7 separate regions of the Homo sapiens genome follow, and all the other regions are linked to region 1. Evidence: promoter capture Hi-C in 16 types of primary human blood cells and fetal thymus (Javierre and others, 2016). All regions are on one chromosome and are shown on one strand. Each heading gives the region's core, a stretch centred on a gene start or on the middle of the fragment in contact. The rest is flanking DNA. Distances are from core to core; before and after follow the strand shown. Region 1 holds the start of MRPS17 (mitochondrial ribosomal protein S17). Region 2 has its middle 3.2 kb from the start of ELDR. Region 3 has its middle 23 kb from the start of ELDR. Region 4 has its middle 43 kb from the start of LANCL2. Region 5 has its middle 25 kb from the start of LANCL2. Region 6 overlaps LANCL2 (LanC like glutathione S-transferase 2). Region 7 overlaps LANCL2 (LanC like glutathione S-transferase 2).

The links. The method cuts DNA at HindIII sites, captures the fragments that hold promoters and counts their contacts. A CHiCAGO score of 5 or more calls a contact.
Region 2: a fragment that was not itself captured here is called in contact with the fragment with the promoter of MRPS17 in region 1 in 1 of 17 cell types (naive CD8 T cells); the score reaches 5.4 in naive CD8 T cells.
Region 3: a fragment that was not itself captured here is called in contact with the fragment with the promoter of MRPS17 in region 1 in 4 of 17 cell types (fetal thymus, naive CD8 T cells, M1 macrophages and 1 more); the score reaches 6.2 in fetal thymus.
Region 4: a contact is called between a fragment that was not itself captured here and the fragment with the promoter of MRPS17 in region 1, in 1 of 17 cell types (total CD4 T cells). The highest score is 5.4, in total CD4 T cells.
Region 5: a contact is called between a fragment that was not itself captured here and the fragment with the promoter of MRPS17 in region 1, in 1 of 17 cell types (naive CD8 T cells). The highest score is 5.8, in naive CD8 T cells.
Region 6: a fragment that was not itself captured here is called in contact with the fragment with the promoter of MRPS17 in region 1 in 1 of 17 cell types (naive CD8 T cells); the score reaches 7.2 in naive CD8 T cells.
Region 7: a fragment that was not itself captured here is called in contact with the fragment with the promoter of MRPS17 in region 1 in 9 of 17 cell types (fetal thymus, naive B cells, naive CD4 T cells and 6 more); the score reaches 8.9 in fetal thymus.

What each region holds. Positions count from the first base shown.
Region 1 is chr7:55,949,817-55,953,939 of GRCh38, forward strand. MRPS17 (mitochondrial ribosomal protein S17) reads left to right here and starts at 2,061. Exons shown (of 3, transcript NM_015969.3): 1 at 2,061-2,114; 2 at 3,363-3,502. The coding sequence starts at 3,380. RefSeq lists an enhancer at 2,114-2,173. The HindIII fragment of the contact is 16,512 bases long and covers 1-4,123 here.
Region 2 is chr7:55,256,779-55,260,901 of GRCh38, forward strand. It overlaps the pseudogene CALM1P2. Among named protein-coding and RNA genes, the nearest start is that of ELDR, 3.2 kb to the left of the region's middle. The HindIII fragment of the contact is 3,514 bases long and covers 1-3,430 here.
Region 3 is chr7:55,276,951-55,281,073 of GRCh38, forward strand. No RefSeq gene overlaps it. Among named protein-coding and RNA genes, the nearest start is that of ELDR, 23 kb to the left of the region's middle. The HindIII fragment of the contact is 8,247 bases long and covers 1-4,123 here.
Region 4 is chr7:55,320,351-55,324,473 of GRCh38, forward strand. No RefSeq gene overlaps it. Among named protein-coding and RNA genes, the nearest start is that of LANCL2, 43 kb to the right of the region's middle. The HindIII fragment of the contact is 3,444 bases long and covers 461-3,904 here.
Region 5 is chr7:55,337,867-55,341,989 of GRCh38, forward strand. No RefSeq gene overlaps it. Among named protein-coding and RNA genes, the nearest start is that of LANCL2, 25 kb to the right of the region's middle. The HindIII fragment of the contact is 2,821 bases long and covers 988-3,808 here.
Region 6 is chr7:55,399,605-55,403,727 of GRCh38, forward strand. LANCL2 (LanC like glutathione S-transferase 2) reads left to right here. Exons shown (of 9, transcript NM_018697.4): 4 at 353-500; 5 at 1,570-1,716. Among named protein-coding and RNA genes, the nearest start is that of LANCL2, 36 kb to the left of the region's middle. RefSeq lists an enhancer at 2,830-3,817. The HindIII fragment of the contact is 5,332 bases long and covers 1-4,123 here.
Region 7 is chr7:55,415,959-55,420,081 of GRCh38, forward strand. All of the region lies in intron 6 of LANCL2 (LanC like glutathione S-transferase 2), which reads left to right. Among named protein-coding and RNA genes, the nearest start is that of LANCL2, 53 kb to the left of the region's middle. The HindIII fragment of the contact is 4,751 bases long and covers 1-4,123 here.

The DNA.
Region 1 (4,123 bases), core at 811-3,310:
AGCCACTGCGCCCAGCCTTAAAGTTTTAATTTTTGAACCATTTTAATGATTTACACATTCAAAAAATAAGATTAAAAGGATATGGTTTTTCCTATCCTCGAATACAAAATTGTATACAAACATATAAAAATGAAGGCCAGGCACGGTGGCTCACGCCTGTAATCCCAACACTTTGGGAGGCCGAGGCGGGCGGATCATTAGGTCACAAGATGGAGACCATCCTGGCTAACGCGGTGAAACTCCATCTCTACTAAAAATACAAGAAAAATTAGCCGGGCGTGGTGGCGGGTGCCTGTAGTCCCAGCCACCCGGGATGCTGAGGCAGGAGAATGGCGTAAACCCAGGAGGCAGAGCTTGCAGTGAGCCGAGATTGTGAGCGAGACTCCGTCTGAAAAAAAAAAAAAAATCTAATTGTATAGAATATTGTTACAACCACACAGAAGAAAAAAAAAGAATCCCAAGAAATGTTGAACACAGTGCTGTCATTGTACACTCTAAGGACAAAAAGAACCACAAAAAATAATCTCACGCATCACTTAGAAAGTTTGTTTTTAGTCGGGATATTGTTAGTACAACTCCAAAAGCATATAGTGTATACTATAGGATTTAGCATTAATCATTGATGTTGTCGGGGTAGGGACCAGAGTTCTAACTGTGGAAGAAAGGAGATAAAAATACGGAACTGGTGAAGCAAAAGAAGAAACCCACTGGTGGCTCATGCCTGTAATCCCAGCACTTTGGGAAGCCGAGACGGGCGGATCACGAGGTCAGGAGATCGAGACCATCCTGGCTTACACGGTGAAACCCCGTCTCCACTAAAAAAAATACAAAAAATTAGCCGGCCTGGTGGCAGGCGCCTGTAGTCCCAGCTACTCGGAAGGCTGAGGCAGGAGAATGGCGTGAACCCGGGAGGCGGAGCTTGCAGTGAGCCGAGATCGCGCCAGTGCACTCCAGCCTGGGCGACAGAGACAGCCTCCGTCCCAAAAAAGAAAGAAACCCACTGCTGTTTAAAGGTAGGTGTGTGTGTGCGTGTGTGTATGTTTCAATGTATCGATAGCTACATCTGCTGAAATAGCCTACAGGCAGGAAAATCCCAGTAGCAAGTTGCTCACCTAGCACTCAGAGCTTTGTTGCTAAGTACCACTCCCCACTGATATTTTTCGTTTGAAAAACTTCTGATACAATAACTGGTCAGGGAAAGTATAGGTAAATCTGGACCAGCCAGGCACAGTGGCTCATGCCTGTAATCCCAGAACTTTGGGAGTCCGAAATAGGTGGATCACTTGAGGCCAAGAGTTCAAGAACAGCCTGGCCAACATGGTGAAATCCCGTCTCTACTAAAAATAAAAAAAATTAGCTGGACGTGGTGCCAGATGCCTGTAGTCCCAGCTACTCAGGAGGCTGAGGCAGGAGAATCCCTTAAACCCAGGAGGCAGAGGTTGCAGTGAGTCAAGATCATGCCACTGCACTCCAGCCTGGGCAACAAGAGTGAGACCCTGTCTCAAAAAAAAAAAAAAAAAAAACACTTTTAGGCCAGGCACGGTGGCTCACGCCTGTAATTCCAACACTTTGAAAGGCCAAAGTGGTTGGATCACTTAAGGCCAGGAGTTCGAGACCAGCCTGGCCAACATGTGAAACCCTGTCTCTACTAAAAATACAAAAATTAGCTGGGCATGGTGGTGCACGCCTGTAATCCCAGCTACTTGGGAGGTTGAGGCAGAAGAATCGCTTGAACCCGGGAGGCAGAGGTTGCAGTGAGCAGAGATCGCGCCACTGCACACCAGCCTGGGCGACAGAGCGAGACTCCGTCTCAAAAAAAAAAAAAAAAAAAAGAAACAAAACAAAAGAATGAAAGAAAAGTCCGAAACCTCCTGCGCCACTGTCCACTAGCTGCGCGCGTTAGGAAACCAGAGGTCAGCGCCCCCGACCCCGCCACCGCCGCGGGTCCCTTTAAGGGAGAGTGGGCGGGGTCCTGCCTTTAACTCCGCCCACGGCTAAGGAGATGCACGGCCTACGAGAGGGGTAGTGTGGGACTGAGCCAATGCGTACGGCGTGACGCCATCCCGCTGCGACCGGCGCTCCCCGGGGCAGGTGGCTGCATAGTCTTGGCGGAGGTGAGTCTCGTGGTGGAGGTGAGGGCAGGCTCCGGGGTATTGCTGCCGGGGGAGGATTTGCTGGGGACCCAAGGCACCCTCGCGTGAGAGCCCTGAGAGCGAATCGCTTCGTCTGACCTCGGGGTTGTCTGGGGCGAGGGCACGAATCACCCCAACCTTTCCGAAGCCTGGTGGAATGGCTTGTGAACTGATCTCAAAAGCAGCCCAAGTCATCCGTCGCTGGGCCGGGGAGGGGGACACCGCGGCGGCCCCGCCGAGTGCTACCTGGGCACTGAGCCTGTGGGGAGAGGCGACCCAGCGGGGTGGAGAGAGATAAGGGACCAGTAACGTCCAGCGTTTGTCCGTGGTATTGAGCGTTCTGTGGGTCAAATTCTCAAAGCACTCCTGCGAAATAGGCCTGCCCATTTTGCAGAAGGGGAACGTGAGGCTTGGCGAAGTTAAAGTTACCGCTTTGTAAGCGCTGTAAAGATGAGAGGTTGGGTAGTGGGGAACGTGTAAGCATCTCTGAAATGGTGATTCAAGCCGGGCGCGGTGGCTCACGCCTCTTAATCCCAGCACTTTGGGAGGCTTGAGGCGGGCGGATCACCTGAGGTCAGGAGTTCGAGACCAGTCTGGCCAACATGGTGAAACTCTGTCTTTACTAAAAATACAAAAATTAGCTCGGCGTGGTGGTGCGGGCCTGTAGTCCCGGCTACTCGGGAGGCTGAGGGAGAAGAATCGCTTGAACCCGGGAGGCGGAGGTTGCAGTGAGCCGAGATCGCGCCACTTCACTCCAGACTGGGCGAAAGAACTAAACTTCATCTAAAGAAAAATACATATGGCCGGGCGCGGTGGCTCACGCCTGTAATCCTAGCACTCTGGGAGGCCGAGGCGGGCGGATCACGAGGTCAGGAGATCAAGACCATCCTGGCTAACACGGTGAAACTCCATCTCTACTAAAAATACAAAAAAATTAGCCGGGCGTTGTGGCGGGCGCCTGTAGTCCCAGCTGCTCGGGAGGCTGAGGCAGGAGAATGGCGTGAACCCAGGAGGCGGCGTTTGCAGTGAGCCAAGATCGCACCACCGCACTCCAGCCTGGGCGACAGAGAGAGACTACATCTAAAAAAAAACAAAACAAAACTGTTTCTGGGTGGAGGGGGGAACGAAAAAGAAAAAAACTGTTTCTGGACTAACCTGGACAGTTCTTGTGACAAAATTCATGTGGCATCATAACCACCAGAATATGAGACTTTGGAATTTGCTTTTCAGGTGACCAAAGCCACGTAATGTCCGTAGTTCGCTCATCCGTCCATGCCAGATGGATTGTGGGGAAGGTGATTGGGACAAAAATGCAAAAGACTGCTAAAGTGAGAGTGACCAGGCTTGTTCTGGATCCCTATTTATTAAAGGTGAGAAACATTCTTGTTTCCGGGTGGCTTTGGTAAATCACCACCATGTCCTGGGTCCTAAGCAAAAAAACATTTATCTCTCAGTAAAGATGTCTTGTCTCTCATCTGCTTTGAGCCAGGCATTTTGCTGGTCTGTAGGTATAACACGGTTTACACATTCCAAGAAAACAGTTAATGTCAATCCACTCTAACTGCTGTAGTCATTCTGTATGCAAAGTACTGGCCGGATGAGGTGGCTCACACCTGTAATCCCAGCACTTTGGGAGGCCGATGCGGTTGGATCACCTGAGATCAGGAGTTCGAGACCAGTCTGGCCAACGTGGTGAAACCCCGTCTCTACTAAAAATACAAAAATTAGCTGGGCATAGTGGTGCGCACCTGTAATCCTAGCTACTCTGGAGGCTGAGGCAGGAGAATCTCTTGAAGCCGGGAGGCGGAGGTTGCAATGAGCCACAATTGTACCATTGCACTCCATCCTGGACAAGAGCAAAACTCTGCCTACCATGCACAATTCACAATAGGGTTTGTGCTCCTATAGGAATCTAATGCCGCTGCTGATCTGACAGGAGGTGGAGCGCAGGCGGTAATACTCATGCTGGCTCAACGCCACTCACCTCCTGC
Region 2 (4,123 bases), core at 424-2,923, 690 kb before region 1:
CCAAAAACATTCAATTTCCAGATCTGCTTTGGATTTCAGAATTGCAGATTCAAAACATTGTAAACCCTGGATTAAAACCCATTAAAAGTTTCCTGTCTGAGTTGCTCCTATGTCTCTCGTCTCTTCAGAAGAATTTATCTTTTTCTTTTTGACAATCATTCTTTCATAAGAATTGGTCTTTCAACCTACTTTTAGTTCACCTAGTTGTTGGAAATTTAGTAGAAAAAATAACCTTGCCTTTTAGGGTTGATTTAGGTTAAAATGTCTAAGGTATATAAAGTGCTTATCATGTAACAAGGCACACGAGGGTTTATTACGTGTGATACACCTGTGGTGGAAGGGGTTTCTTGTGGCCTCAGGTCATGCAGGAGGGATTCCACCCCACAACTGCTCCAAAAAAAGCACCCATGCCACCACCTCACACCAATATTCTGAACCCCACGATAGTGACCTAACAAGTGTAAATAATAGTGAAAATCACAGGACAGACTAGTTGAACTCAGGACTGACCTAGAACATATGATATGCCAGATGACATGAGAGATGTAGATAGACGACATGAGAAAATGAGATCAATTGTCTAATAGTTGATTGATCCTTCAATGCCAGATTTTTATCTGCCATATAATTCTTACTGATTATATAGGCTGAAAGGCAGAGGAGGGATGATGATTCTATCCAATGAATATGGAGAATGGCTCCAAATTTTAACTCTCTAAAACATCACCATGTGCTGTGTCTTTTCCTACAAATCAGGATCTTTTTTCAACCAGTACATACCTCCTTGACCTGACAACACTTAATATAGGCAAAAAAAAAAAAAAAAAAAACTGTTCCCAAGTTGAGTATAATCATATCTGTAATTATATCCATAATCACAAGGATAACCACTGTTCCCAAATTAGGTATAGTCATGTAATAGCAGGCCCAGTTCTGGGCTTTCTATGCCTTTTATCTGTTTGTTGATCCTTATGCCTGTGCCACATTGTCTTGATCACTGCAGCTTTATTGGCTTTCTATAAGTTTTTTGTTTGTTTGTTTTTGAGACAGAGTTTCGCTCTGTCGCCCAGGCTGGAGTGCAGTGGCGCGATCTCCACTCACTGCAAGCTCTGCCTCCCGGGTTCACACCATTCTCCTGCCTCAGCCTCCTGAGTAGCTGGGACTACAGGCGCTCGCCACCACGCCTGGCTAATTTTTTGTATTTTTAGTAGAGACGGGGTTTCACCACGTTAGCCAGGATGGTCTCGATCTCCTGACCTCGTGATCCACCCTCCTTGGCCTCCCAAAGTGCTGGGATTACAGGTGTGAGCCACCGCGCCCGGCCGGCTTTCTATAAGTTTTGAAAGCTGGCAATGTAAGCCTGCCAACTTTTTTTTCCCCTTTTTCAAGATGGCTTTGCAGATTCTAGGTGCTTTGCATTTCCATATAGATTTTAAAAAATCATTTTGTCAATTCCCACAAAAAGTCCTGCTGGGCTTTCACGGAATGTATACACCTATTTGGGAAGAACTGCTATCTTAATAATAGTGACTCTTATAAGCCATAAACATGGTATATATTTCCATTTACTTAAGTTTTCTTCAATATTTTCACCACCATTGTGTAGTTTTCAGTATAGAGGTCTTACACATTTTTGTTGATTTATTGCAAAACATTGCATGTTTCTGTTCTTACAGTAAATATAATTTTTAAAATTTCCTTTTCTAATTCTGTACTGTTAGCATACTAAATTTACATCGATTTTTGCATAATAACCATATAGACTGCAACTTTTTATTAGCTCTAGTGGTCATTTTGTAGATTCCTTAGAATTTTCTTTTTAAGTTAATCATCTTTTTATTGGGGAAAAAAAACTAGCATTTACAACTCGGAATGGAAGTAAACTGTAATTTGTTGAACGGTAATGTTGATGACTGTGCTGAAGCCCACAGCCACAGCTTACTCTGCTGGCTCAAAGTCATGGTTCAGAAGGTTTTAAAAGCAGAGTCCAAAGATGCTCCCTTGGTAAAGGTTTTTTGTTAAAAATGTGTGTGAACAGTGACAGCCGTTTCACTCTAGAACAATGCAGACAACGCTAAATCAACATACGTGGGCATGCCACCAGGGTATGTCATCGTCACCATGGGTCACAGCACACAGAAGTACAAGATGACCATCCCGCTAGTGGGGCTACGTCTCAACAGTTTATCCTTCACCCCATTTTTCTGCACATCATCCTAAGATAAACCAATTTTAAATGTTCGTTTTCAGTAAACCAGTTATGACAATTTATACTAAACAAATTGAACCAGAATCCATTTGAATAGGTTTTGGATTTGTTTTCTCCTTTTTTTTTTTTTTTTTTTAAATACAAATGGCTGACTGCTCTCAGTCGTCAGGCTGCATGCATGAAAAACTGGCCGGCCCAAACAGTGTATTAATCATGACTAAATGGAACTTTGAGGAGTCCTTATTATTAAGGTAGTACATGTACTTATATTGTAAAACTGATGTGTAGCTTGGTCTTTAGGGGACAGGACCACCAACAAATACATGCAGATTTTGTGTGTTTGGATAGAAGGTACTTTTGACATTCAGTTTTGCTATACAGAAACAGAATGAATCTGTTGGGCATGGTGGCTCACGCCTGTAATCCCAGCATTTTAGGAAGCTGAGGTGGGCATATCACTTGACTCCAGGAGTTTGAGACCAGCCTCACCAACATAGCAAAACCCCGTCTCTACTAAAATACACAAAGATTAGCTGAAAGTAGTGGCTCACGCCTGTAATCCCAGCTAATTGGGAGGCTGAGGTATGAGAATTGCTTGAACTCAGGAAGCAAAGGTTGCAGTAAGCCAAGATTACACCAATGCACTCCAGCCTGGGTGACAGAGCAAGATTCTGTCTTTAAGAAAAAAAAAGAAAGAAAGAAACAGAAACAAAAAATTAGAAACTTTTTTCTTTTTTCTTTTTTTTTTTTTTTTGCAAAAGGTAAGTAAAAGATTCCATTTGATTCTTCTAGAACAGGGAAAAGGGGTTGGAAGTAGGTCTTCATTTTGCAGTCATCATCTGTATTAATTCTTCATAATCAACTTGTCTGTCTCCATCAATATCTGCTTCTGTCATCATTTCATCTACTTCTTCATCTATTAGTTTTTCTCCTAAGTTTGTCATGACATGACGTAGTTCTGCTGCACTGATGTAACCTTTGCCACTATCGTCAAAGACTGGAATACCTCACGATTTCTTCTTCACTATATGTGTCTTTCATTTTTCTAGCCATCATGGTCAAAAATTCGAGGAATTAAATGGTGTCATTGCCATCAGAATCCACTTCATTGATCATGTCCTGCAATTCAGATTCTGCTGGGTTCTGACCCAGTGACCTCATGATGGTTCCAAGTTCCTTTGTTGTGATAGTGCCATTACTATCTTTATAGGACAGGGAGAAAGCTTCCTCGAATTCAGCAATCTGTTCTTTGGTCAGCTGATCAGCCATGGTGCCAGTGAAGGGAGGAAGAGCAGAAGGGGCGAGGGGGCAGCATCGGCACTGGGGACTGCGGGGAGCCTCCTCCGCTGCTACTGCTGCTGAGGGCATGCTGTGCACTGTGCACTGTGCCACCACGTGTCTCCACCTGCTGTGAGTAATGGCACCTCAACCATGACATTCCCAGCACCACTGCACAGGACTTTTTAATATAAGCAATAGCAAGTCACGACTACAGACGACTAAAATCCAGGCCGGGCTATACCCACAAAATTGTGTCTCTCTGTGGAATGTGGACCCTGGAAAAATGAAAGAGGGGAAAAACTGAAGATGTTTCATTAAGGCACTAAAACTTTATGTTTACATGGCTAACAGAAATGAATACAATAACACAAAGAAGGTGAACCAGATTATCAAAGTTTTTGCCTCTTGATTGCTATTTCCTTTGATTTGAGGGGAGAGGGATTGATAGAGAGGACTAATCCCATTCCATCTACATTTGGATAAATCATCTACTCCTTAAATAGCATTACTGTAAGTAAAAATATTCAAAAGGTCAGTCAGTCTCCCAAGCAAGATGGCGGAATAGGATTTTCCATAGCCGTGCCTTCTCAGAAACATCCATTTGAACAACTATTCATGCGTGAAAATACCTTC
Region 3 (4,123 bases), core at 720-3,219, 670 kb before region 1:
TTTGTTATCATTATGACCCACATGCAGCTCTGGGGCCTGGCTAGACCCTGCCATGGGGTTCTTACGTAGACTCTGTAAAGGTCTTTGGTAATTAGGTTTGGATGAGGTCATAAGGGTGAGGCCATCATCATGGGATCAGTGCCCTTATAAAGAGATGCCACAGAGCTTGCTCCCTCTCTCTCTCTCTCAGCCATGTGAGAAAAAAGTGAGAAACCACTGTCTGCAAGCCAGGCAGGGCCCACGCCAGAACCTGACCATGCTGGTGTGACTTTCACCCTCCAGAACTTTCTGACTTTCACCCTCCAAAACTGCGAGAAATTTCTATTGTTGAAGCCACTCCATCCTTGGTACTTTTTTCTGGCAGCCCCAGCTAACCAAGTCACAGGGGAGGAGACATAGACCCCCCCAACACTTGATAGAAGGAGTGTCAAAGAATTCTCAGACATGTTTAAAAACCACCTGAACTAAAAAGGACATATAAACTCCACCTCTTGGATACAGAAAGACTCATGCCAGTGAGCCTGAAGCTGTGAAGTTTTCCAGGTATTTAATAGATGGTCAGTGGTAAAATTATTTTGTAATCCATTGAGTTTCTAAAATTATAGCTCCTAGAACTTTTCACACAGAAAGGAGAGATGGAGGTCAACTTGGCAGTCTCACCAGCAAAGCAACAGAGTAGATTCTCACTTATTTTTAAAATCCCATAACATAGCACTATGCCTGGCACATGGGAGGTGCTGCGTAAACATGTTATACCCTGACTCACTCAGCTCCCAATGCCTGTTTCCGTGGCAGCCTCAGAAACCCACGGAGAAGACTCTGGACTCCAAGACATCTATCCTATGTCTGGTATTGCTCTGCCTGCAGGAAACAGATGACACTGTGTGGGCAAGGTGTTCACCTGGTGACAGAGATGGGAGCTGGGGGCAGAGGCTGAGACTGTCTGGAAGCAGGTATTGGAGTTGACTTCCACTCTGAGGGGACAGTGTGGGTGTCTGTGAGGGGGTTGGCTGTGGCTGAGACACTGGGATTCATTTCAGATGTGGACGACAGGGCTCAGTGGGAATGGAACGCAGCCTAACCTCCAGGGCTGCTCCAGTCCCTCTGTGGCCGGGTCCTGGCCACGTGGTGGGTGTCAGCTACTCACTGAAATACTGATGGGGCACTGCTCCCAGGGTCCCCTCTAGCCAGCCAGAGTCTATAATGCAGGTAGAATGTCCACCAGCCCTTCAGGAGAGATGGGAAGGCAGCATTTGGAGGAGCCCCAGGGAGGGGGTGCCCTGGGACCTCAGGGGTGGTTGAGGAGCTGAAAGGAGGCCACGTTCCCCAGGGCAGCAGTGCACTGAGGAATGGACGAAAGGGCCATCAAGGTGCCCCGGTGCCAGAGAGGTGTTGGCCTGAGGGATTTGCTAACCGGGTGAGGAGTGGAAGGGCTACAGGGATGCTACCCAAGATGGAAGGGGAGGAAGTCCCCAGGACCAGGCTGTCTCCATGCAGACCCTCAAAAGCAAAGAACCAGCCCAAGTGATGACTGCTAACGTTTGTTAAGTGGTTACCATGCACCTGGCAGAAAGTGAGGGCCTTCCACCATCTAGCCGTTGTGGCCCAGCGATGGGAGGTGACTTCCCAGTCATTCATGAAATAATGCGTGGCTTCATCGCCAGCACCTCCGAGGTGGTGCTATCCCCATTCTGCTTCTCAGGAAACTAGGTGTATTTGTTTCCACCGCTGCTCTAACAAACTACCATAAACCCATGGCTTAAAACAGCAGACATGTATTCTGTCAGGGTTCTGGAGACCAAGAGCTCCAAATCAAGGCATCAGCAGGGCCATGCCCCCTCTCAAGGTTCCCAGGAAGAATCCTCCCTTGCCTCTTCTGAGATTCCGGTGGCTCCCAGCAATCCCTCGGCTCCTCGGCTTGTGGACGCATCGCTCCAGCCCCTCCTGCACACGGGCTTCCCCTCTGTGTGTCTCTGCGTCTCTTTCTGTCATCTTATAAATCACATTTGAAGACCCACCCAAATCCAGGATGAACTCAACTAATTATATCTGCAAAGACCTTATTTCCAAATACAGAAATTTGTCACATTCTGAGGTCCTGGGTGGAGATGGATTTTGAGAGTCACTATTCACCCTATTACACTGAGTCTTTGAGAGGTTTAAGAAATTACCTAAGTTTCCACAACAAATAAAAAGGTGGCTGAAATGGGGTTTGAATCCCCGGAGTAAAGCTGCCCCTGTAGCCCACAGTGGTGTCAGCAGCCCGAGGGCTGAACAGCTCTAACCTCTTCCCCCGCCGCCCAAGAAACTGCACTACCACCGCCATTTTGAGTCAGAGAGACAGAACCCAGTAGAGAACACAGGGCGGGTCTCAGAGAAGAACACTGCCTGGGATACAGGGCAGGTCTCAGAGCAGGGCCCAGGCTGGAACACAGAGCAGGTCTCCAAGAAGAACCCAGGCTGGAATACAGGGCAGGTCTCAGAGCAGGACCCAGGCTGGAACGCAGGGCAGGTCTCAGAGAAGAACCCAGGCTGGATCTCGGATCTGGGCCCAGGCTGGAACACAGGGTGGGTCTCAGAGCAGGGCCCAGGCTAGAATACGGGGCAGATCTTGGAGCAGGGCTCAGGCTGGAACATGGGGCAGATCTCAGAGAAGAACCCAGGCTGCGTCTCAGAGCAGGGCCCAGGCTGGAATGCAGGGCAGGTCTCAGAGCAGAGTCCTGGGGACAGCAGCACCAATGGCTCTTCCCAAGTGGCCTGAGTGAGCTGGGAGGGCTCTTTTAACTCTGCAAGCCTCGGGTCCGTCTTGAGGCTCATGGGAGATTCCGTACACCTCCTAGGCATCCCAAGAAGTGTTTTCCCCAGATATTTGTTTCTTCCTTAACGCTAGATTTGCTGCCACCCTCTAATTAATGGGATCTATCTTTCAAGAAAATTTCTCTTCAGTCTTCTCTCTGGACTCCCCACTTCCTCTCTGGCAGTCCCAAGCCATTCTAAATTAGATTTTCATATTCCTTCCCCAGATGTTTAATTCTCCTAATGAGCATTTTCTAGCTCAGGCCTGCACTGCTGTAGCCTGTAGGGTCCCTGAGGGGTGCCCATGGGGAAGGCGGTGCTCTTCAGGGCTTGGAGTGGGTTTTAATATTTAAATCTTCACAGCAATGCCGACACTAGATGGCAGTGGTTCCTAATTATTGGGGGTTCCAGGCAGGCTTGCCTTCTTCCTGTGCTGCCCAGGGAGGTCAGACCTCCCTGAGATGGGAAGAAGTGGGTCATTCCCACCCCACCAACCCCCTCCTGCAGACCCAGACCCAGAAAGCTCAGCCCGGGTGAGGAAGAAAGGAAAGCCCCAAGAGGAAAGATGTGAAGCAATGAACTTGACATGGGGCTGTTGATTTCCTCTCCAAGTGCCTCAGACAGATCCACCCCTGAGAGGCCCTTACAGAATGATCCTCTCCAAGTGCCTCAGACAGATCCACCCCTGAGAGGCCCTTACAGAATGATCCTCTCCAGGGGAGGCTCAGAAGCTGTAGCCATTGCCTGGCAAGATTTTAGGAGCCTCCCCTGCCTCACCCCCACCCCTTATCCCCCACAGGTAGGAAAGTCCTTGGGAAAGGCAACTCAGCAGTGTTCATCAAAAGCCCTCAAAATGTCATATGATCACTTTATATGTAGGAATTTGTTGTAAGATTAGAAGTGAATAAGTCAACAAGAATATATGTTTGGGAGGCCAAGGCAGGCAGATTGTTTGAGCTCAGGAGTTTGAGACCAGCCTGGACAACATGGCAAAACCCAGTCTCTACAAAAAATACAAAAGTTAGCCAGGTATGGTGGTGCAAGCCTGTAGTCCTAACCACTTGGGGGCTGAGGTGGGAAAATCACTTGAGCCCAGAAAGTCGAGGCTGCAGTGAGCTGAGATCACACCACTGCACTCTAGCCTGGGTGACAGAGTGAGAACTTGTCTCAAAAAAAAAAAAGGGAACGAGAAAGAGAAAGAAAAAAGAAAACAGAATATTCATTGTACACTTATTTATAGTAGTGCGAATTTGGAAATTGCGTAAATTATACAACTGTTAAAAGAAAAACTTCAGCCAATTAAAAGAGTTTATTTGAGAAATGAACC
Region 4 (4,123 bases), core at 933-3,432, 630 kb before region 1:
CCTGGGTGACACACAGCAAGGCTCCGTCTCAAAAAAAAGATCCCTATCAAATGCTTTCCATTTCCCATTTCAAATAAGGATTATTAAAAAGCTTAAACATGCTGGGTGCAGTGGCTCACACCTGTAATCCCAGCACTTTGGGAGGCCAAGACGGGTGGATCACCTGAGGTGAGGAGTTTGGGACTAGCCTGGCCAACATGGTGAAACGTCATCTCTACTAAAAATACAAAAATTACCTGGGTTTGGTGGTGGGCACCTGTAATCCCAGCTACTCGCGAGGCTGAGGCAGGAGGCAGAGGTTGCAGTGAGTTGAGATCATGCCACTGCACTCCAGCCTGGGTGACAGAGTGAGACTCCATCTCAAAAAAAAAAAAAAAAAAAGCTTAAACACAAATAGAGAAAAGAGTATAGTGAGCCCTCACGCACCCATCACTGAACTACAATTAGCAACCCATAGCCAAGCTTATTTCATCACTCATTCTACCCTCTTCCATACTGTCTTAAAGCAAATCCCAACCATTATGTCACTTCATCCAGAAACGGTTTAGTATGAACTCTGAAAGATTAAGGGCACTTTTGACAAAAAAAATAAAATACCTAGGAATACAGCTAACAAGGGAAGTGAAGGATCTCTTCAAGGAGAACTACAAACCACTGCTCAAAGAAATCAGAGAGGACACAAACAAATGGAAAAACATTCCATGTTCATGGATAGGAAGAATCAATATGGTGAAAATGGCCATACTGCCCAAAGCAATTTATAGATTCAATGCTATCCCCATTAAACTACCATTGACATTCTTCACAGAATTAGAAGAAAACTATTTTAAAATCCATATGGACCTAAAAAAAAAGAGCCTGAATAGTGAAGACAATCCTAAGCAAAAAGAACAAAGCTGGAGGCATCACACTACCTGACTTCAAACTACACTACAAGTCTCCAGTAACCAAAACAGCATGGTACTGGTACAAGAACAGACACATAGACCAATGGAACAGAATAGAGAACCCAGAAATAAGACCACATACCTACAACCAGCTGATCTTCAACAAACCTGACAAAAACAAGCAATGGGGAAAGGATTCCCTATTCAGTAAGTGGTGCTGGCAGAATTGGCTAGCCATATGCAGAAAATTGAAACTGGATCCCTTCCTTACACTATATACAAAAATTAACTCAAGATGGATTAAAGACTTACGTGCAAAACCCAAGACTATAAAAATCCTAGAAGAAAATCTAGGCAATACCATTTGGGACATAGGCACAGGCAAAGATTTCATGACAAAAATGCCAAATGCAATTAAATGAAAGCAAAAATTGACAAATGGGATCTAATTAAACTAAAGAGCTTCTGCACAGCAAAAGAAACTATCATCAGAGTGAACAGACAACCTACAGAGTGGGAGAAAATTTTTGCAATCTATCCATCTGACAAAGGTCTAATATTCAGAGTCTACAAGGAACTTAAACAAACGTATAAGAAAAAAACAAACAGCTCCATTACAAAGTGGGCAAAGGACATGAACAGACACTTCTTAAAAGAAGATATTCATGCGGCCAACAAACATAAAAAAAAGCTCAACATCACTGATAATTCAAGAAATGAAAATCAAAACCACAACGAGATACCATCTCACACCAGCCAAAATGGCTATTATTAAAAAGCCAAAAAAAAAAAAAAAAACACAGATACTGACAAGGTTGTAGAGAAAAAGGGATGCTTTTACACTCTTGGTGGCATGTAAATTATTTCAACCTATGTGGAAGACAGTGTGGTGATTCCTCAAAGACCTAGAGACAGAAATACCATTTGACCCAATAATCCCATTACTGGGTATATACCCAAAGAAATATAAATCATTTTACTATAAAGACATATGTATGTTTATTGCAGCACTATTCACAATAGCAAAGACATGGAATCAACCCAAATACCCATCAATGATAGACTGGATTAAAAAAAATGTGGTACATATATACCATGGAATACTATGCAGCCATTAAAAGGAATGAGATCATGTCCTTTGCAGGGATATGACTGGAGCTGGAGGCCATTATCCTCAGCCAACTAATGCAGGAACAGAAAATCAAATACCCCATGTTCTTACTTATAAGTGGGAGCTGAATGATGAGAACACATGGATACATGGAGGGGAAAAACACACACTGAAGCCTGTTGGAGAGTGGGGGGTGGGAGGAGGGAGAGCATCAGGAAGAATAGCTAATGGATGCCAGGCTTAATACCTAGGCGATGGGATGATCTGTGCAGCAAACCACCATGGCACATGTTTACCTATGTATGAACTTGCACATCCTACACATGTACCTCTGAACTTACAATAAATAAGTAAATAAATTTTTAAAGCATTAAAAAATAAAATAAAATAAAAAGATAAGGGCACTTTTTTACAATGTAGTCATGTTACCAATATCACACCTTAGAAAGAATTAATTTCCTCAGTAGCATCAAATATCCAATCAGTATTTAGGTGACCAATTATCTATAAATGTCATAAATATTTTTAAATTTGTTTGAATTAGGGTCCAAATAAGGTTCACATGTTCAGATTGGTTAATATGTCTATTAAATCTATAAGGTTCCCCTTCATATTGTTTTTCTTTGACATTTACTTATTGAAGAAACCAAGTCTTTCATGGTGTCATGTTCACCTTAGTATGGATTTATCTGATTGAATCACTGAGGTGTCATTTAACATATTTCTCTGTCTTCTGTTATTTTCTGCAAATTGGTAATTGAAGACTTGATCCACCTTTTTGCAAACTTCTTCATAGGTGTTGCTGTGTACTTCCAGGAGGAACATATAATGTAGGACTCTCTCTTTCTCTTTCTCTCTCTCTCTCTCTCTCTCTCTCTATATATATATATATATATGAAGTTATCTACCATTAATATCCAAAGCCTAGCTATCTTAATTCATTACTGGCATTACTGGTCATGAAAAGGTAACATTCTAATCCAGTCTTTCCTTTTTCTTTCTCTGTCGCCCAGGCTGGCGTGCAGTGGCATGATCTCAGTTCACTACAAACTCCGCTTCCCAGGTTCAGGCGATTCTCCCACCTCAGCCTCCCAAGTAGCTGGGATTACAGGTACATGTGCCACCACACCCAGCTAATTTTTGTATTTTTAGTAGGGACAGGGTTTTACCATGTTGTCCAGGCTGGTCTCGAACTCCTGACCTCAGGTGACCCACCTACCTCAGCCTCCCAAAGTGTTGGGATCATAGGAGTGAGCCACCGTGCCTGGCCTCATTTTTCATCTATTAGCTGACATACATCCACAAAAAGAAAATGTTCTCTTTTGCTGTCTGGGTTGCCCATTGCTGTAGTACACAGAACGAAGTTAAGTTAAAGGTTTGATTCTTTCATTTATGTACCACTTTTTAACGTGCCACTTTTCAAAAAAACGAGTTGATTCACTAGCATTCTCCAATAGTAATTAAGTTTTTTGTTTGTTTGTTTTTGTTTTTTGAGACAGCATCTTGCGATCTCGGCTCACTGCAACCTCTGCCTCCTGGGTTCAAGCAATTCTCCTGCCTCAGCCTCCCGAGTAGCTGGGATTACAGGCATCCGCCACGATGCTCAGCATTTTTTTTCTTTTTTTTTTTTTGTATTTTTAGTAGAGATGGGGTTTCACCATGTTGGCCAGCCTGCTATCCAACTTCTGACCTCAGGTGATCCGCCTGCCTCGGCCTCCCAAAGTGCTGGGATTACAGGGGTGAGCCACCGCACCCAGCCAGTTTCTTTTTCAATGTTGTCAAGACCATCAATTTAAACATATTTAATAGATGAAGGAGACATAAAATTAGAAAGATATAGAATACTTAAAACTTAATTAACATTTTCTCCTGTTTCTTGGGACAGAGGAAAAAAACATAATTAACAAGCTTGCATCAATAATTGAAGAAAATACATTTTTAATTGAAAAATAATTCACATACCATAAAATTCATGCTTTTAAAAATGTTTTTTATGTATTCAGAAAGTTGTGCTATCCAATTCCAGAACATTTTGCAACTCCCAAAAGAAACCCATACCCATTAGCAGTCATTCTCTGTTCCCTTCTCACCCCACCCGCACCCTGCCCCTGGCAATCACCGATCT
Region 5 (4,123 bases), core at 1,148-3,647, 610 kb before region 1:
TGTGTATATCACTCTAGATAAATTCTATGTCAATGTAAAAAGAAAGAAAGAAAAAAGACAAGAAAATGCCAATTCAGCCACTGCCTTTTGCCTTCCCACAGCTGAAGAAGGGACACAGGGTGTGCTGCTCAGAAGTCTCTCATTTCCAACTCTGACCACCAGCACCTGAAAACATGGTGGCCTCCACCTCACTGTCTCCACCCAGAGCGTGTGCCACTGTACCGCTTCCTACACAGCAAGGGGTCTGAAGGGATGTAATCTGAGCTTGGCAACTATATCCAATATAAAGAGGATGCAATGAAGGTTGAGAGAACAAATCCAGCTATCTTCTGTGATAATTGTGCATGCCTCGGGCCAAGTCACGTTGTTAGGCAGATTGCTGAGTTGGGTGAGTACTTGCAGCAAAATATCAAACTAGCGGGTGGTGATAGGATATCACCCACTCATTAGAGAGAAGGAACTGCCTTGGCATGAAGAAAAAATTACAAATGATCAAAAAATAAGAGAAAAAAAGTTTCACCTTTTCAGGGTAAGAATATGGATAAAGACAGGTAGAATGGGTATTTATTGTCTTCAATTACAAGCAAACTACCAGGGATCAAGGAAATATAAAGATAGTTTCTTCCTCCACTTACAAAACTATCAGTGGGGCCCAACCAGACAAAACTATACAAACTGGCCGGGCGCGGTGACTCACACCTGTAATCTTAGCACTTTGGGAGGCCAAGGCGGGTGGATCATCTTAAGTCATGAGTTCGAGACCAGCCTGGCTAATGAGGCAAAACCCCGTCTCTACTAAAAATACAAAAATTAGCTGGGCGTGGTGGTGCGCGCCTGTAGTCCCAGCTACTCAGGAGGCTGAGGCAGGAGAATCACTTGAACCCAGGAGGTGGAGGTTGCAGTGAGCCTAGATCGCACCACTGCACTCCAGCCTGGGCAAAAGAGAGAGACTCCGACTCAAAAAAAAAAAAAAAAAAAAAGTATACAAGCTTAGAAAATACAGTTAGAGCCAACCTGCCAGGCATCCTTGCATACTTCAGACCAGGGATGCTTGTCTGCATGCTTTGTTTGGGTCCATCTCTAGAGTATTCTTCTGTCTGCAGAGATTGGTGTAGGCACCTTGGGATGACAAATCATTGAGCGGGGCTTTTCCATGTGTCCCAGAGTTAGTGACAAAGTCCAAAGCCGTGGACGGAAAGACACTCAGTACCCCCACTACAATTAGAGAAAGATAGCAGCCCCAAAGCCTTGGATTGAAGAAAGAGGCTCAACCACACCCCTCCACCTGCATCACCAGAAGGAGTAGAATGAGGAAGGGTGGGGGTGGGGGGTCACTGAGTTATCCTGTGGTTTTGCCCAGTTTGGTAGTAAGAGACTTCTCTTTTCTCCTTCTATGAAAAAGAAAGAGGTGCTTCTCTCACCCACTAACTCAAAGCCAAGAGAGGAGAGGGCAGCTAGAGGAATCATTTATGGAGACTGTAGGTGCCTGGAAGAAGGACTGGCCTCTCTCTACCTGGATGATCCTTTCTGCAAGCGGGAAGTTCACTAGAGGAACCCAGGCCAGCATGATGAGAAGGGCCCGCTGTGGGGTGTGCCCAAGAGCAGGAGGGATTTGCTTCTTCATCTGTCCCAGGTCTTGGAAGCTCTGAGGGCATAAGCCACCGCAGTGTGAAGAGCAGATGCTGGAGGAAGGCACAGGGCCAGACAGGGCAAGCCCCACACTGAAGAGATGTTGTAGATGTGGATTGCTGTGTGCCTAAAGGGAGACACAGCAGCCCCTTTCTGAGGGGATTCTCTGTGATAAAGGGTAGGTCAGGGGGAAGCTGAACACTGTCCCTCCCACCAAAACACATACGCCATCTACATATACACAGCATAACAGAGAAGCCACCAACCAGCACCAAACTGAAACAATCCAAGCAAGAGTAGGCCCAGAAGGGGAGGGCAGAGGGTAATAAAGGAACAGATGGTAGCCCTGTTCCTACTACAGCGATTGCATCAAATATGACTGCAGCAGATTTCCTTCAGGCTTTTCTTTTTAAATAAATTTTTGTTGAAGGGAAACACATACAGAAAGTGCATAAATGGTAAGATCACAGTCCAACGAACCATCACAAAGTGAGCACAGCCCTGCACATAAATGACTGAATGTTACCAAAGCCCCAGACACCCCTCATGCCCCTCCCAGTCACTGCTCCTCTCTAGAAGGTGACCACTATCCTGACTTCTAATAACAAAGATGAGTTTGGACTACTTCGAACCTTGCATGACTGGAATCATATGGTAGGTTCTCTTTTGACTCTCCCTTCTTTCATTCAATGTGACTGTTTTCAGATTCATCTGTGCTGTGTGTAGAGTACTTCATTTATTTTTAGTTGTTTTTTATTTTTATTTTTTAATTTTAATTTTTTTTTTTTTTGAGATGGAGTCTCGCTCTGTCACCCAGGCTGCAGTGCAGTGGTACGATCTCAGATCACTGCAACCTCTGCCTCCCGGGTTCAAGCGATTCTCCTGCCTCAGCCTCCCAAGTAGCTGGGACTACAGGCGTGCACCACCACACCTGGCTAATTTTTTGTATTTTTAGTAGAGATGGGGTTTCACCATGTTAGCCAGGATGGTCTCAATCTCCTGACCTGCTGATCCACCCACCTCTGCCTCCCGAAGGGCTGGGGATACAGCCGTGAGCCACCATGCCTGGCCTATTTATTATTTACACACCATTGCATGGTGTATGCTTTCTATTATCTGCTATAACATATTACTACAACCTTAGCTGCTTAAAACAATGGAGATTTATTTTCTCACAGTTCTGGAGGCCAGAAATGCTTAGTCAGTATCACTGGGCCCTAACCAGGGTCCCAGCAGGGCCACAGTTGTCCAGAGGCTTTAAGAGAGAGTCCTCACCTCCAGGAGCTTCTGGGAGCTGCCAGCAGCCCTTGTCTTGTGGCCACTCAACCTCTGCTTCCTTGGCCACATTGCCACCTCCTCTTCTGTATTAAATCTCCTTCCGGCTCCCTCTTATAAGGACACGTGATTGCATTTAGGGCATTCAGGGCCCCTCTGGTCGTCTCCTTCTCTCAGGATCTTTGGCTCAATCGCAGCTGTAAAGACCCTATGACTGAGATTTAGAGTGAAAGTTTAACAGGCCAAAGAAAAAAAGCTCTCCCTGCTGCAGAGAGAGAGGTCCTGGAGAAATGTGTTGCCACTTCCATGGTGAAATGCAGATTTTATAGATGAGCTTGAGAAGGCGTGTTTAATTTACATAGGGCATGAAAGATTGGTTGAACCAGGTGTGCCATTTGCATAGTCCGTGAAGAAGTTGGCTGCCCCACCCCAATATTTTATTATGCACATAGGTTTTTTAACATGGCTGGTGCCATGTTGCCTGGTTTTTGTTTTGTTTTTTTGAGACACAGTTTCGCTCTTGTTGCCCACGATGAAGTGCAATGGCACGATCTAGGCTCATCGCAACCTCCGCCTCCCGGGTTCAAGCAATTCTCCTGCCTCAGCCTCCTGAGTAGCTGGGATTACAGGCAAGTGCCACCACGCCCGGCTAATTTTGTATTTTTAGTAGAGACGGGCTTTCTCCATGTTGGTCAGGCTGGTCTTAAACTCCCAACCTCAGGTGATCCACCTGCCTCGACCTCCCAAAGTGCTGGGATTACAGGCATGAGCCACGGCGCCTGGCCGTTGCCTAGTTTTTGTGGTAACAAACAAAAAAAAGGCGGGGGGGGGGGGAATGGAGCCTCCATGTTGAACACACCCAGCCCCCAAGTCTATTGGCAAGCTGCTAGCCTTTATCCATGCAAGCTTTCTGCTTCCCTATCTTAGTGTGCCCAAAATAGGGAAAGGAATATGCTCATTAAGGTCCACTGTTTTTACTGGGACTCATTGTATTTATGTGGAGTTTGGTGATTATTCAGGAAGCTCCCCCTCTGTTGTCGAAGTGCTTATTTATGTTTTATAGCCCAATCTTCCAGACTGCTCTTTGTTAGAAAAAAAGTAATTTCTTTAAACTGTGTGTGGTTAAAAAGAAAGTAATTTCTTTTTTTTTTTTTTTTTTTTTTTTTTTGAGACGGAGTCTGGCTCTGTCGCCCAGGCTGGAGTGCAGTGGCGCAATCTT
Region 6 (4,123 bases), core at 813-3,312, 550 kb before region 1:
AGTGCTGGGATTATAGGCGTGAGCCACCGTGCCCGGCCTGCAGTACCATTTTTATTTAAATTTTAAATCACTTTCTTTTACTTCTGGATTTCAAAATAAAATTTTATGGTTTAAAATAGATGTAAAGGTAGAAATTAACAGAAAGATGTTTTGTTTTTAATTTTGACATTCAAAAGGGGACTAGTAAACTGGAGACGTTTTTGTTGTGTTCTGGATTTGGGAGTATTTTTAAAAATAATTGTTTTAAATGTAAAATAAATAATAGGTAATTCCTAAAGCAACAGGGTTAGTGTTTCAGGAAGAAGTACTTTAGACTTCCACTGGGAAAAAATTAATTTTTCTTATTGGTTAGACTTTTGCAGCTCCAGAGATCGGTTGTCTGCCAAGAATCAGACCTTCCTGATGAGCTGCTTTATGGACGGGCAGGTTATCTGTATGCCTTACTGTACCTGAACACAGAGATAGGTCCAGGCACCGTGTGTGAGTCAGCTATTAAAGAGGTACTATGGGGTATGGGTAACTATGGGCGTCTCTACCATTCAAACCTATTTGCTAGCATTGAGTTGTATTAACAGCTGGACTTTACTTCTAGGTAGCATTACTTTTTTAAAGCAACTCATCAAAAGTAAGAAATAGTCCCTGCTTTTTTCTAGGAACATTAACAAAAAAAATCTGTACTCTCTTTCATCTTGTATTAATTTATCAGTTTTTACTGGAGCTAAACAGCAGCAGCTTCAGAAAGTTAGAATGTTTATTTATCTTTCGTGAGATGTCTCAGCTGGTAAGCATTTCAGGCTGGTATGAGTGGGGACCAGCTTCTTCTGTCTCATTCTGCCTTATCCTAGGGGCATACCCTTATTTGCAGGACCAAGGCTAGTTTAGCCCCTCAGCCTATGAAGGGAAAAGAGGAGGTGGAGGCAACGCAGCTTCCTTGTTAGGGACTCAGTCTCCAAGTTGCCCTCTTTACTTCTGCTCCCATCCCAGTGCCAGAACTTCATCAAGTGTCTGTGTTCAGCTGTCTCTAACTAGGGAGCCAGATGCCCAGCTAAAACTTGGAATACTTTCCCAAAAAGGATGAGAGGAGATAGACGTGAGGAAACAGTCATCCCAGACATGATATTCTGTTGATCTAACTGAAATCCTTCATGCCACAGCAGACCTCATATCATTAGCCTTTTATAAATAAAGCCAGTTCCTCCAGCCTTTCCTGATAGGTGTATGTGCTGCTCTTTTGGGAAAAATACTGCAGCTACGAAGCAACTAAGAAATCCAAAACAGTTTTATAAGAAGTTTTTCTAGATTTTTCGTTGACTTTTTATGCAAAGAATTTTTTATTTCTTAGACAGTATCTTTTCCTACTCTGACATTGGCTCCTGATTTCTTTTTGCCTGCATTTATTAATTTATAAAATAAATATAACTATATTAGCTGCTAACTGCTTAAAGACTTTTAGATTAAGGCTTCTGCCTCTCTCTCTATATATGTCATATATATATGACATACTGTTAATTAGACTACAACAGGGTACATATACAGTTTTAGATTTATGCTGTCTTGTTATCTCTGTAGGTAGTCAATGCTATTATTGAATCGGGTAAGACTTTGTCAAGGGAAGAAAGAAAAACGGAGCGCTGCCCGCTGTTGTACCAGTGGCACCGGAAGCAGTACGTTGGAGCAGCCCATGGCATGGCTGGAATTTACTATATGTTAATGCAGGTAGGTAAGAATACTCTTACACACTACAGTATATTTGATCAAACATGAAATGGGAAATGAATCCTGCATATAAACAAAGCAGTCTGGATTGAAATACCCTACTTTGAATCGCTGATGCGTAACTCTGCCACATAAACCACAGGCAGTGGATTTCTAAGAGTCCAGTGAGTTCCTGAGTACATTTGGTATGGAGTCTTTTTTTTTTTTTTTTTTTTTTTTTTCCAATTTTCTTTTTTTTTTTTTTTTGATCATTCTTGGGTGTTTCTCGCAGAGGGGGATTTGGCAGGGTCACAGGACAGTAGTGGAGGGAAGGTCAGCAGATAAGTGAACAAAGGTCTCTGGTTTTCCTAGGCAGAGGACCCTGCGGCCCTCTGCAGTGTTTGTGTCCCTGGGTACTTGAGATTAGGGAGTGGTGATGACTCTTAACGAGCATGCTGCCTTCAAGCATCTTGTTTAACAAAGCACATCTTGCACCACCCTTAATCCATTTAACCCTGAGTGGACACAGCACATGTTTCAGAGAGCACAGGGTTGGGGGTAAGGTCACAGATCAACAGGATCCCAAGGCAGAAGAATTTTTCTTAGTACAGAACAAAATGAAAAGTCTCCCATGTCTACCTCTTTCTACACAGACATGGCAACCATCCGATTTCTCAATCTTTTCCCCACCTTTCCCCCCTTTCTATTCCACAAAACCGCCATTGTCATCATGGCCCGTTCTCAATGAGCTGTTGAGTACACCTCCCAGACGGGGTGGTGGCCGGGCAGAGGGGCTCCTCACTTCCCAGTAGGGGCGGCCGGGCAGAGGCGCCCCTCACCTCCCGGACGGGGCGGCTGGCCGGGCAGAGGGGCTCCTCACTTCCCAGTAGGGGCGGCCAGGCAGAGGCGCCCCTCACCTCCCGGACGGGGCGGCTGGCCGGGCGGGGGGCTGACCCCCCCGCCTCCCTCCCGGACGGGGCGGCTGGCCGGGCGGGGGGCTGACCTCCCCGCCTCCCTCCCCGGACGGGGCGGCTGGCCGGGCAGAGGGGCTCCTTACTTCCCAGTAGGGGCGGCCAGGCAGAGGCGCCCCTCACCTCCCGGACGGGGCGGCTGGCCGGGCGGGGGGCTGACCCCACCACCTCCCTCCCGGACGGGGCGGCTGGCCGGGCAGAGGGGCTCCTCTCCTCCCAGTAGGGGCGGCCGGGCAGAGGCGCCCCCCACCTCCCGGATGGGGCGGCTTGCCGGGCGGGGGGCTGACCCCCCCACATCCTTCCCGGACGGGGCGGCTGGCCAGGCGGGGGATGACCCCCCCACCTCCCTCCCGGATGGGGCGGCTGGCTGGGCGGGGGGCTAACCCCCCCACCTCCCTTCCGGACGGGGCGGCTGGCCGGGCGGGGGGCTGACCCCCACCTCCCTCCCAGACGGGGTGGCTGCCGGGCGGAGACGCTCCTCACTTCTCAGACGGGGCGGTTGCCGGGCGGAGGGTCTCCTCACTTCTCAGACGGGGCGGCCGGGCAGAGACGCTCCTCACATCCCAGACGGGGCGGCAGGGCAGAGGCGCTCCCCACATCTCAGACGATGGGCGGCCTGGCAGAGACGCTCCTCACTTCCTAGATGGGATGGCGGCTGGGCAGAGATGCTCCTCACTTTCCAGACTGGGCAGCCAGGCAGAGAGGCTCCTCACATCCCAGACGATGGGCGGCCAGGCAGAGACGCTCCTCACTTCCCAGACGGGGTGGCGGCCGGGCAGAGGCTGCAATCTCGGCACTTTGGGGGGCCAAGGCAGGCAGCTGGGAGGTGGAGGTTGTAGCGAGCCGAGATCACGCCACTGCACTCCAGCCTGGGCACCATTGAACACTGAGTGAGTGAACGCGACTCCGTCTGCCATCCCGGCACCTCGGGAGGCCGAGGCTGGCGGATCACTCGCGGTTAGGAGCTGGAGACCAGCCTGGCCAACACAGCGAAACCCCGTCTCCACCAAAAAAATACGAAAACCAGTCAGGCATGGCGGCGCGCGCCTGCAATCGCAGGCACTCGGCAGGCTGAGGCAGGAGAATCAGGCAGGGAGGTTGCAGTGAGCCGAGATGGCAGCAGTACAGTCCAGCTTTGGCTCGGCATCAGGGGGAGACCGTGGAAAGAGAGGGAGAGGGAGAGGGAGAGGAGGGAGAGGGAGAGGAGGAGCCTTTCCAATTTTCTTTCGGTATGGAGTCTTAAAGCAGATTAGTTATCTGTTCCCCACACTTTTCTGGGTTTTTTTTGTTTGTTTGTTGTTTTTTTTTTTTTTTTTTTTGAGACAGAGTCTCACTCTGTCGCCCAGGCTGGAGTGCAGTGGTGTGATCTCGGCTCACTGCAACCTCCACCTCCCAGGTTCCGGTGATTCTCCTGCCTCAGCCACCCGAGCAGCTGGGACTACAGGCGCGCACTACCA
Region 7 (4,123 bases), core at 613-3,112, 530 kb before region 1:
GAACAAGCTGCTATGAACATTCTTGCACAGGTCTGTCTAGAGACACATGTCTTCATTTCTTTTGGGTTAATATCTAGGAGTAGAATTACTGGATCGGAGGGTAGGTGTATGTTTAGTTTTAGAAATTGCCACTTTTTCCACAAGTTCTGGTTGTTCTGCATCTGCCAACACTTGATGTTGAAAGTCTTTTTAATTTTAATTATTTTGGTGGGTATTTCATTGTGGTTTTATTTGTATCTTCCTGATTGACCAGGGTTGATTAATGTTGCATGTGCTCATGGGCCAATTGTGTATCTTCCTTTGTTGACTGTCTCTTCATATCTTCTTCTTATTATTATTATTTTTTGAGACAGGGTCTTGCACTGTCACCCAGGCTGGAGTGCAGTGGTGGATCTTGGCTCACTGTAGCCTCGACCTTCAGGGCTCAGGTGATCCTCCCACTTCAACCTTCCAAGTAGCTGGGGACTACAGGCACGTGCCACCACACCTGGCTAAATCTTTTTATTTTTGTAGGGGTCTTGTTTTTTGCCCAGGCTGGTTTCGAACTCGTGGACTCAAGCAATCTTCCTGTCTTGGTCTCCCAAAGTGCTGGAATTATAGGTGTGAGCCACTGTGCCCAGCCTGTCTCTTCGTGTGTTTTACCTACATTGTTTTATTTTATTTTATTTTTGTCTTTTTGCTATTTTTGAAAGAATTCTTTATATGTTCTGGTTAAAGTCCCTCTGTCAGATATATATCGTACAAATAATTTCTCCCTGTCTGTAGTTTGCCTAATCATATTCTTTATGGTATCTTTTGACTAATAGAGTTTTAAATTTTGATAAAATCTATTTTTCAATGTTTTCTTTTTATGATAATTACTGTCTGTGTTTTGTCTAAGAAACCTTATCTACCCTCAGGTTATATAGATAATACTCTCCTTTAATCTTTATTGTTTTAGATTTTACCTTTAGGCCTGTGATTTATCTCAAATTAAGTTTTGTATATTACATGAGGTAACAAACGAGGTGGTTTTTTTTTTTTTTTTTTTTTTTTTTTGGAGACAGAGTCTCACTCTGTCGCCCAGGCTGGAGTGCAGTGGCACGATCTCTGCTCACTACAAGCTCCGCCTCCCAGGTTCACACCATTGTCCTGCTTCAGCCTCCCGAGTAGCTGGGACTACAGGCGCCCGTCACCACGCCTGGCTAATTTTTTGTATTTTTAGTAGAGATGGGGTTTCACCGTGTTAGCCGGGATGGTCTCTATCTCCTAACCTCATGATCTGCCCGCCTCGGCCTCCCAAAGTGCTGGGATTACAGGCGTGAGCCACCGTGCCCAGCCTGAGGTGTTTTTTTTTAACCATAGGGATATCTGATTGTTCCCATACCTTTTGTGGAAAAGACATTTATTTTTCCCATTTGATTGATTTTGGTTCCTCTATCAAAAATCAAATGACCTAATAAGCCTGGGTCTGTTTCTGGACTCTATTCAGTTACTTTGGCCTGTTTACCTACATGATATTACCACGTTGTTTTTCTTATTCTGCATTTATTGTAAGTTTTGAGATCAGGTAACTTAAGACCTCACTTTGTTCTTTTTCAGAATCACTTTGAATATTCCAAGTCCTTTGTATTTTCATATAAGTTTTAGAGTCCATTTGTCAGCTTCTAAAAATGGAGCCTATTGGAGTTATGAGTCAGAGTGCATTGAATCATTGAATCTCTAGATCCACTTGGGTAGAACTAACTGACATCTTTTTTTTTGAGATGGAGTCTTGCTTGGTCGCCCAGGCTGGAGTAGGTGTGATCTTGGCTCACTGCAACCTCCGCCTCCCAGGTTCAAGCAATTCTCCTGCCTCAGCCTCCTGAGTAGCTGGGATTACAGGTGCCCACCACCATACCCGGCTAGTTTTTGTATTTTTAGTAGAGACGGGGGTTTCACCATGTTCGCCAGGCTGGTCTCAAACTCCTGAGCTCAAGTGATCTGCCCGCCTTGGCCTCCCAAAGTGCTAGGATTACAGGCATGAGCCACTGTGCCTGGCCAGAACTGACATCTTAATAATGTTGAGTCCTTCTGCTCGCAAATGTGGTATATCTCTCCATTTATATTTTCTTTAATTTCTGTCAATAGTGCTTTATAGTTTTTGCTCTACAGGTCTTAACACATCTTCTGTTAAATTTATTCCTAGATATGTTATTTATTTACATTTTCCAATTATGTATTGCCAGTATATAGAAATACAATTGCGTTTTTTTTTTTGGAGACATAGAGTCTCACTCTGTTACCCAGGCTGAAGTGCAGTGGTGTGATCACGGCTCACTGCAGCCTCTACCTCCCCAGGCTCAAGATATCCTCCTGACTTAGCTGAGTAGCTGGGATTACAGGTGTGCACCACCATGCCTGGCTAATTTTTGTATTTTTTTGTAGAGATGGGGTTTCGCCATATTGACCAGGCTGGTCTCAAACTCCCAAGTTCAAGGGTTCTACCCACCTCGGCCTCCCAAAGTGCTGGGATTACAGGCTTGAGCCACTGTAACTGGCCACAGCTGCTTTTTGTATATTGACTTTATATTCTGTGCTAAATTCACGTATCAGTTCTGGTAGCTTTTTATACATTACTTAGGATTTTCTGTGTACACATATTGTATCTGTGAGTTTTCTTCTTCCTTTCCAACCTCTGTGCCTTTTATTTCCTTTACCTCTTTTATTACATTGGTTAGGAGCTATAGTATAATATTGAATAGAAGTGGTCAGAGTGGACATCTTTGCTTTATTCACAATCATAGAAAAAAATATTAAATATTTCCCCATCAAATATACTTTTAACTGTTTTTCTTAGATGGCTTTTATCAGATTGAAGAAGTTTCCTTTTATTACTGGTTATCATGAAGGGATGTTGAATTTTGTCATTTTTTTTTCCTGGATTTATTCAAACGCTCCTATGGTTTTCCTCTTTTGTTTTATTAATATGGTGATTTTACATTGATTGGTTTTTAAAAGTTGAGTCAACCTTGCATTCCTAGTATAAACCTCACTTGGGCATGATTTTTATCCTTTTCTTTTTATTAATATTGCTACATTTGGTCTGCTAATATTTTGTTAAAGATTTTTATGTTTCTTAGTACATATTTTCTTTTTCTATAAAATCTTTGTTTTTATTAGGAATCAGGTATCAGGATTATGCTGGTCACGTACATGAGTTGGAAAGTGTTTTCTCTTATTTTCAGAAAGATTTTGTGTACAATTGGTGTTATTACTTGCTTAAATGTTTGTGGGAAAATTTTTTATTATGAATTCAATTTCATTAATAGAATCATTTTGCATCAGTTTTGTTAATTGTGTTTTTCAATATGTTTTCTCATTTTATCTAAGTTGTCAAATTTATTGGCATAATGTTATTCATACCTCTTTTTTTTAATGTTTAGTAAGGTCTGAAGTGATAGTTTCTCTTTTGTTCTTTTCCTTTTTTTTTTTTTTTTTTGGAGATAGAATCTTGCTGTTTCTCCCAGGCTGGAGTGCAGTGGCACGATCTTGGCTCACTGCAACCTCCGCCTCCCGGGTTCAGGCAATTCTCCTGCTGCAGCCTTCCATGTAGTCGCGATTACAGACACGAGGTACCACGCCTGACTAATTTTTGTGTTTTTAGTAGAGACAGGATTTCACCATGTAGGCCAGGCTGGTCTCGAACTCCTGACCTCAGGTGATCCGCCTGCTTCGGCCTCCCAAAGTGCTGGGATTACAGGTGTGAGCCACCACTCTGGCCTCTCTTTTATTCTTGATATTAGTAATTTATGTTTTCTCTCTCTCATCAGTCTAGATAGCAGCTGTGTCAAAGTTGTATTGCTCTTTCAAAGAAATAAACATAAATTGTAGCTTTATCTATTTTCTATTTCATTGATTTTTCTTCTTTTCTTTTTAAAACTTCCTTCTATGGTTCTGGGCCCAGTGGCTCACTTCTATAATTCCAGCACTTTTGGAGGCCAAGGTGGAGGATAGCTTGAGGCCACAAGTTCAAGACCAACCTGGGCAACATAGTGAGACCTCATCTCTACAAAAAATCCAAAATTATCTGGGCATGGTGGTGCCACTGCACTCTAGCCTAGGTGACAGAGTCAGACCCTGTCTCAAAAAAAACATAAAAAAT